2 separate regions of the Homo sapiens genome follow, and region 1 is linked to region 2. Evidence: promoter capture Hi-C in 16 types of primary human blood cells and fetal thymus (Javierre and others, 2016). All regions are on one chromosome and are shown on one strand. The core of a region is centred on a gene start or on the middle of the fragment in contact, and the rest is flanking DNA. Distances in the headings are between cores, read along the strand shown.

The links. The method cuts DNA at HindIII sites, captures the fragments that hold promoters and counts their contacts. A CHiCAGO score of 5 or more calls a contact.
Region 1: a contact is called between a fragment that was not itself captured here and the fragment with the promoter of ENTPD3-AS1 in region 2, in 4 of 17 cell types (total B cells, naive B cells, naive CD8 T cells and 1 more). The highest score is 9.4, in total B cells.

The regions. Positions count from the first base shown.
Region 1 is chr3:42,583,046-42,587,028 of GRCh38, forward strand. It overlaps a transcript of SEC22C not described here and a transcript of SS18L2 not described here. Among named protein-coding and RNA genes, the nearest start is that of SEC22C, 3.1 kb to the left of the region's middle. The HindIII fragment of the contact is 5,967 bases long and covers 1-3,983 here.
Region 2 is chr3:40,452,058-40,456,221 of GRCh38, forward strand. ENTPD3-AS1 (ENTPD3, EIF1B and MYRIP antisense RNA 1) reads right to left here and starts at 1,251. Exons shown (of 4, transcript NR_040100.1): 1 at 1,065-1,251. RefSeq lists enhancers at 985-1,054, 1,075-1,144. The HindIII fragment of the contact is 7,917 bases long and covers 57-4,164 here.

The DNA of each region.
Region 1 (3,983 bases), core at 1,407-3,906, 2.1 Mb after region 2:
TAGAGAATAAAGGAGTGGAGTGAGATCCACTAGAGCGAATAGAAGGGGCAGGACCATGTAGGATTTTATGGACCATAGTGGAAAGTTTAGGACCATAGAACACTGGTCAAAATTGCATTTTATAAAACTCACTTTGGCTGCTAAAGTGCAGATCAAAATGGAGAAGTCTCAACAGAGCTATGGTGGGACTGGCCTGGGAGCCAGTGCAGTCATCTGGGCAAGAGAGAATGGAGCTGGAGTGTGGACTAGGGTGAGAGTGAAGAAAAAGAGATCTAAGAAGGCTGCAGAGAAATGTAGGAGCAAAATCAATAGGACTTGGTGATGAGTTGGATGTGAAGGGGCGATGAAGCAGCTTCAAGGATGATGCCACTGTTCAGCCTTGGATAAATGGATGGATGGTGCAGGGATTCACAGATATGGAGAACACTGGAAGAGGAGATAAGATTGATCTTGAGCTCCATCTTAGACAAGTTGAATTTGAGGCACCTTTGAGACTTGGTTAGGATTTTGCGATGATTAGTTTTAGATGTCAACCTGACTAGGTTAAGGGATACTCAGGTAGCTGGGGGAACATTACTTCTGGGTATGTCTATGAGGGTGTTCCCAGAAGATATTGGCATTTAAGTCAATGGACTGAGTAAGGAAGATCTGTCCTCATCTAATATGCGCAGGCACCACATAATAGAACAAAAAGGCAGAGGAAAGGCAAATTCTCTACTCTGGAGTTGGGACACCCCTCTTCTGCCCTTGGCATCAGAATTCCCCGTTCCCCTAATCTCCTAACTCTAGGAGATTAGGTAGTAGAGTCCGTCCATTTATTCATTTAGCAAGTATTGAGCCTTTGGACTCCAAGACTTGTACCAGTGGTTCCCCAGGTTCTCCCGGCTTGGGCCTTGGACTGGGAGATACACCATTCAGCTTCCCTGGTTCTGAGGCCAAGTCTAAGACAGGGTAGTCTTGAACTGAAGCAGTCTACCAGCCTCCCTGGTTCTCCAGCTTGTAGATGGTCTATTGTGGGACTTCTCAGCCTCCATAACTATGTGAGCCAGTTCCCCTAATAAATCCCCTCCCATATATCTATAGATATAGATCTATATTGTAGATATATAGATATCACATTGGTTCTCTCTCTCTGGAGAACCTTGACTAATACAGATGTCAACACAGCAGGTGCATATACAGGTTGCAGGTCAATGTAGAGGTCTGGGCTGAACACAGACTTTTTTTGAGGCTGAGTCTCACTCTGTGGCCTAGGTTGGAGTTTAGTGGCACAATCTCGGCCCACTGCAACCTGCGCCTCCCAGGCTCAAGTGATTCTTCTGCCTCAGCCTCCCAAGTAGCTGGGATTACAAGCATCTGCCAACACGCCCAGCTAATTTTTGTATTTTTAGTAGAGATGGGGGTTTCACCATATTGGCCAGTTTGGTCTCGAAATCCTGGCCTCAAGTGATCTGCCCGCCTTGGCCTCCCTAAGTGCTGGGATTACAGGCGTGAGCCACCACGCCTAGCCGGGACATAGACTTTTGAAAGTCAGCATCATATGGGCGGAAATCGAAGTGGGGCTTACATAGCCAGAGAAAAATTACAAAATGAAAACTGAAGAGAATTGTGATACAGTCTAAGATAGCCTCCAGGGTTCACCACCTCCTGGGATTTATACCCTTGTGTAGTCCCCTCCCACAATGAGTCTCTGATAATGAGGGTAGGTCATAACAGGCACAAAGAAGGAGAAAAACCAGGAGATTCAGGGTTGGTAAAGGCAATTGAAAACCCTGTAGCATAAGTGCTCTTCAAATATGGGGAATTGGGGCCAGGTGTGGTGGCTCACACCTATAATCCCAGCACTTTGGGAGGCCAAGGTGGGTGGATCACGAGGTCAGGGACCAGCCTGTCCAACATGGCAAAACCCCGTCTCTATTGAAAAATTACAAAAATTAGCCGGGCGTGATGGTGGACATCTGTGATCCCAGCTACTTGGGAGGCTGAGGCAGGAGAATCACTTGAACCTGGGAGGAGGAGGCTGCAGTAAGCCGAGATCGCACCATTGCACTCCAGCCTGACCTACAAGAGCGAAACTCCATCTCAAAAAACAAACAAAACAAAACAAAACAAACAAACAAATATGGGGAATTGGGCTCTCAAAACTTGTGGTGCGAGTGCTTTAGAACAGGACCTTACACTCTCTGACTGGTGCAACTGGTGTGGTTCAGGCACCATGGTAGATTGGACAACAGGGGTGAGATGTAGTACCTAAAGTCCTAGCTCTCATCTCCAATCATTGTTCACTTTGGCTCCAGGTTCACAGTCAACTCCAGAGTCTTTCTCTTCCAGTCCTCTTCAGTCCTCCACTCCTAGGGTAACACCCTGGACCACAGAAGAGCTCCACCTCTGAAGTTATAAATGCAGACACCTGATCTTTCATCTGTCCTTCTGCTATTCTCTGAATTCCTTTCATGGTTTCTCTAGCCTGCAGAAACTTCCAGTTCATTTGTCCCTCTACTTTGTTTTATTTATAAGCTCCATCGAGTCTTCATTTCCTTCCCCATCAGCTGAGAGTTCAGGGTTTATCACCTCCATCACATTCTTCCCAATATACTTATATTCCTTGCACAGTTATCTTTCTGGCATAACTAGAAGGATAGTAACACCCATCTGGCAGCACTACAATCCTGGAAGAATCCAACCTTCTGTCTTCTCTGAATCTGCTTCTTGGCTCTAAGTGCTGCTGGACAAAATCTCACAACCACACAGATCAGTGCTACATACATTGTCAACTTCAACTAGGTCCTCAACACCTTTCAGCGCTCCTATTTGCCAAGGCAGCTCTCTCTCCAGCTCTCCCCCAAAATCAACTTCCAAATATCCTGCATGCTCCCCAGATCTCCCACTCTTCAACCCCCCCTCCCCCGCTTGCTCTCCCAGGAACCTCCGTTACTGAAGAAAGAGCAACCATCAAAGTGATGTCCCTTAGCTCCAGACAACTCCTCTCCTTCCAGCTACCACCTTCTTTCCCCTCTCCCCTTTACAACCAAACCTCATGGAAAAAGTGGTCTATATGTGAACACTCCATTGCTTCACCTTCACCTTTCATTATTTCTCAGTCCCCTGCAGTTCTGATACCTGTTTCACCATATCACTGAAAATGCCCTCCTCAAAGACCTAGTCTTTATTCTTCCTTGTTCTTTTGTTGTTGTTGTTGAGACAGAGTCTCGCTCTGTCACCCAGGCTGGAGTGCAATGGCACTGAGGCTTACTGCAACCTCTGCCTGCCGGATTCAAGTGATCCTCCAGCCTCAGCCTCCCAAGTAGCTGGGACTACAGGCCTGTGCCACCATGCCTGGCTAATTTTTGTATTTTTAGTAGAGACAGGGTTTCAACATGTTAGCCAGGCTGGTCTCAAACTCCTGACCTCAAGTGATCTGCCTACCTCGGCCTCCCAAAGTGCTGGCATTACAGGTGTGAGCCACTGCACCCACCCCTTCCTTGACCTTTCAACAGCATTTGTCATTGCTGTCCTGTATGTCCTTTTCAGTCACTGTTTAAAAAAAAAAAAAAAGCCATAACCCCCACTCTCCTGGTTTTCCTCTTCCTATATCTCTAGTCTCTTTCTCCCCTCAGTCTCCATTGCAGCTTCTTTTCCTCTGCCATAAGAGAAACTATCACATTCTCCTTAGGCAGTCTTATCCACTACATAGTTCCAGTCAGTTTCTACAAGTGATGTTTCTCAAAGCTGTATCTCCAACCTAGCCTTTGTCCCTGAGTTTCAGCCCCAAATAGCCACAAGCCTCAACATCGTTTGACATCACCTCACACTGTACATTTCCACAACTGAATATATCACCTTCATTTCCATTCCAGCATCTCCCCCACTGTTCCCTGCCTACATAAGGGGCATCACCAGTTTCTCAGTTGCTTAACCCAGAACCCCAGAAGGCATCCCTAATTTCCCTTTTCTTTCCCTCCCCACTTGATCACTAAGGCCTG
Region 2 (4,164 bases), core at 1-2,500:
ACCTAAGTCACTTTAACACAGAGATACAGCTTCAATTTACAAGCAGCCAGTTGCAAAGCTTCAGAAAAGGTTTTCAAAAAAACAGGACAATGGGTCCACTCTGCAGTCTAGGCCTGATGTTGACCCTTTTTCACAGTCCTGCTTTGTTTTGAGGCTATTAAAACCCTGCTTCATTTAAGTTCCATCTAAACTTTACACTTCCTCAAAATCCTGTAACTTTATATTTTCCTTCCCCTGGTAAAATGTCCCATGGTGTCTCTGGTGTGCAATCTCCCTCATTAAAAAAGATCGATAGACCTGGTTTTGCTGACTACAGGTTTGTCCCTGGTGGTCTTAGGCTGACTGGGCTTGAACAGTCTTGCTCAGCTTCAGGGTTCCTAAGATTGCAAATTTCAAAAACTGATACAACAAACATTTTTTCACTCCTAAATACAAATGCACCTGTCCACGTTGCCAGGTAGTTATGCACATGGCTACCATGTCAATTTGGTCATAACTAGGGTTAGGTCACTTCTCTGGAAGGTTAGTTATTAAGAACAAGAAAGAAAGTCAGGGTTCTGCACAGCTTTTGGTTTGATTCTTGTACTGACTTATGTTTCTTTTTCTTTGGGGCTACAGGTAAATATTTTGTCTGCTAAACTGACGCCCCCATCGCCAGTGTCTGAACAAACAAAACTGAGACATATCTAGTCAGCTGAAGCTGACAAATACAGGGGCCAATCTGGTTACAGGCAGGCAGTCCTGGCCTCGTGACACCGCAGAGACTGTGGGACAAGTGGACGTGCTCCTACTGTCCCTCGCATCCCCCATCTGGGCCGCGGGACTAGTGCCCTCAGGTCTATGACCCACTGCAAGAACCCAAAGCTCGACGCCCGCCCAGCCCTTCACATCCGTCCCTTGCAACAAGCAAGAGAAGAGGGGCGCGGCTTCAGGGGACGGGCGACGGTTTACAGGACAGCTCGTACACAGTACCAGCTGACATCCCCTAAGCCTGAGTGTCTAGGCCCCTGCCTCCACATTTAAGAGCCGACTGCGCCCCTTGGTGATTGGACGTCCGGACGCACCTTGAGTAGAGGCCAAGCAAACTATCGAGCCCGTCCAAAACGCCATATTTGTAACTGACGTCATCCTCATGTTGCCTTTCCTCTCTGTGATTGAGGAACCAATCAGTTGGGTGTAGCAGACGGGGCGTGGCTCTTCAGGTAGAGGCCGAAGGGGCTGAGAGCGGTCCCAGGCGGCCATCTTGATTCCTGGCATCACTCTCAACGTGCCCTCCCTCTCCGTGATTGGACGAGCAGGGCGGGCCTTCCGGAGGCACACAGCCGACCAACCAGAGATCTGCGCGTGCTCGATCTGGTCATCTGTTTTCTGACATCTGGAGCCACTAGCAGTTATCCTGTTCATTCCTGGGCGCCTGCGACCTTCCGAAGGAAACAAGACTTGCTTGGGGAAAGTTGCCTTGCCAGTATAGTGGAGCTTGGTAGAAACTTAAAAACTGCCTGGGGCTGCCTGGGATGGGGATCTCGAGATGCTTGTGGGGAGCACATTTTAGGAAACAGGGGGCTCAAGCTGCATGAAATGCTGCGGGAAATAGGAATGAGAGACGCAGAATGGTCGGAGAAAAAAGCTAGGAAGGTGTTTGGGAGTAAGATTTTGGAGTGCCTTGAATGCCAGACTAGGGAGTTTGGACTATATCCTGTAAGATAGGGGATAAAAATCAACTTTAAACAGGAGTGATATAACAAGATAATGTACTTTAGAAAATAATTCTGTAACTGTAGGGGGAGTCCCAAAGTGTTTCTCAAATTGTGTTCGGGGAAGTTCAAAGTGTGTTTGAGAGCTTGTTTTTATATGCAGATTCTTGCCCCTCACCAGACCTGCAAATAAAGTTCTCTGGTTGTACAGCCAGGAAACTGCATTAAAAAAAAACTTTTTAGGTTAACATACATTTGGTGAGAAAACGCATAAACCATATGGATAGGGCTCTGAATTTTCACAAGCAAACACTTCAGCCAGGCGGGGTGGCCCGTGCCCCTAATCCCAGCTACTCGGGAGGCTTAGGCAGGAGAATGGCTTGAGGCCAGGAGTACCAGATCAGCCTGGGCAACATAGCAAGACCCGTCTCTAAAAAAATTTAAAACAAAAATAATAACACACTCCCGTAGTTAACACCAGATGAAGAAACAACATGGCCAGCAGCTCAGAAGCTCCCCTTTTCCCCTTTAGCCACTGCTGCCTGCACCAAAGGTAAATATGATCATTACTTATAAGAACTGTAGATTAGTTTTGCCTGTTTTGAATTTGATATAAATAAAAGCATACAGGATATATTGTGTCAGCTTATTTGTTAGTGTTATTTATGAAATTCATCCGCATTGTTCCATGTAGTTGCTGTAGACTCCGTTGCTATAGATTGTTATCACAATTTATCCAGTCTCTTGTTTATGGGCCTTTGGGTAATTTCCAGTTTGGAGATAGTAGCAAAAAAAATGCTAAAATGAACATTCTTCTTCATTCATATCTTTTGCTTTGTAAATTATAAAGCAAGACAACAAGACCTAAAGACTGATTCATTCACTACCTATTTATTGAGCCCCTTACCAGACTAAGGTGAGAAAATAAAACAGAAAAGACAGCAAAGGTCCTGCCCTCATGGAACTTATTCTAACTGGAACGAAACAACACCTACGTGGGCAGCAAAACAAGTCAAACAATTGCAATTGTGATAACTCTGAGGGAAACAAGGTGAGCTAGAAAAAGAAGGGTGGGGACTTAACCTTTTTTTATGTGGTAGCCTGGTTAACTCTCAGAAAAATATCTAGGAAAAAATACAAGAGATAAGTTGGCACTGCTACACGATGAGTATTAACAATGGGTAGACCATTCCTGGCAAGAGAGACACCATGTATAAAGGTCATGGAGGAGGAGAGAGCTTGGCCCATTCAAGACCAGTGTGGCTTCAACACAATGAAGGAGGGATGGCATAAGGTGTATCTGGGTATTAAAGCATATGATACAAGGCCAGAGTAAGAAGTTGAGATTTTATTCCAAATATTATGAAAAGCAATCGAACTGTTAAAAACAGGAAATAATGTGATCTGATTTACTTACTTAAAAGATCCCTCTAACTGCTGAGCAGAGAACAGATTAAAGACAGAATTTAGGAGGCTGCTAGAGCAGTCTCAGGGAAGATATGCTGGCATAGAGCTTAGAGGAAAGGCTTGAAATACATCTGGGAACTGTCATGGCAAAGATCATCACCTTAATCAAGTGATAAAAGGTAACACCTCTCTGCACTGGCCTGGGTAAAAATCTAAAGAATAAAATACCACCACAATATTGGGAACCCATGTGTGGTGGTGTATTCCTGTAGTCCCAACTATTCTGGAGGCTGAAGCAGAACTGCTTGAGCCCATGAGTTCAAGGCTGTAGCAGGCTACAATCAGACCTGTGAATAGCTACTGCACTCCAGCCTGGGCAACACAGCCAGACCCCATCTCTTCGAAAAAATGTATATGTGTGTGGCCAAGCACAGTGGCTCACGTTTGTAATCCTAGCACTTCTGGGAGGCTGAGGCAAGTGAATCACAAGGTCAGGAGTTCAAGACTAGCCTGGCCAAAATGGTGAAACCCTGTCTCTACTTAAAACACAAAAATTAGCCGGGCGTGGTGGCAGGCACCTGTAATCCCAGGTACTTGGGAGGATGAGGCAGAGAACTGCTTGAACCCGGGAGGCAGAGAACTGCTTGAACCTGGGAGGCAGAGGTGGCAGTGAGCCGAGATCGCACCACTGCACTCCAGCCTGGGTGACAGAGGGAGAGTCCATCTCAAAAAAAGAAAGAAAAAAAAAAGTGTTTGTGTGTGCGTATATATATAGAGAGAGAGAGAGTGAAGAGAGAGAGAATGTATTCTGATGTGATGCACCAAGGACATAGCATTTCTACCAAAAATTCACTATCTGAATCCAATGAGGAAAACTCCAACAAACCCATGTTACAAATTTAACAGTTAAATCTAAAACTATCAGTTAAAGACTAGAGACCTGATAAATAATTGCAATTTGTAATCCTCCATTAGATCAAGAGCCTGGAAAAACAATTTTTTTTCCCATTTGCTCCAAGGAACATAGGAGCAACAACTTATAAATTTGAATAAGGACTGAAGG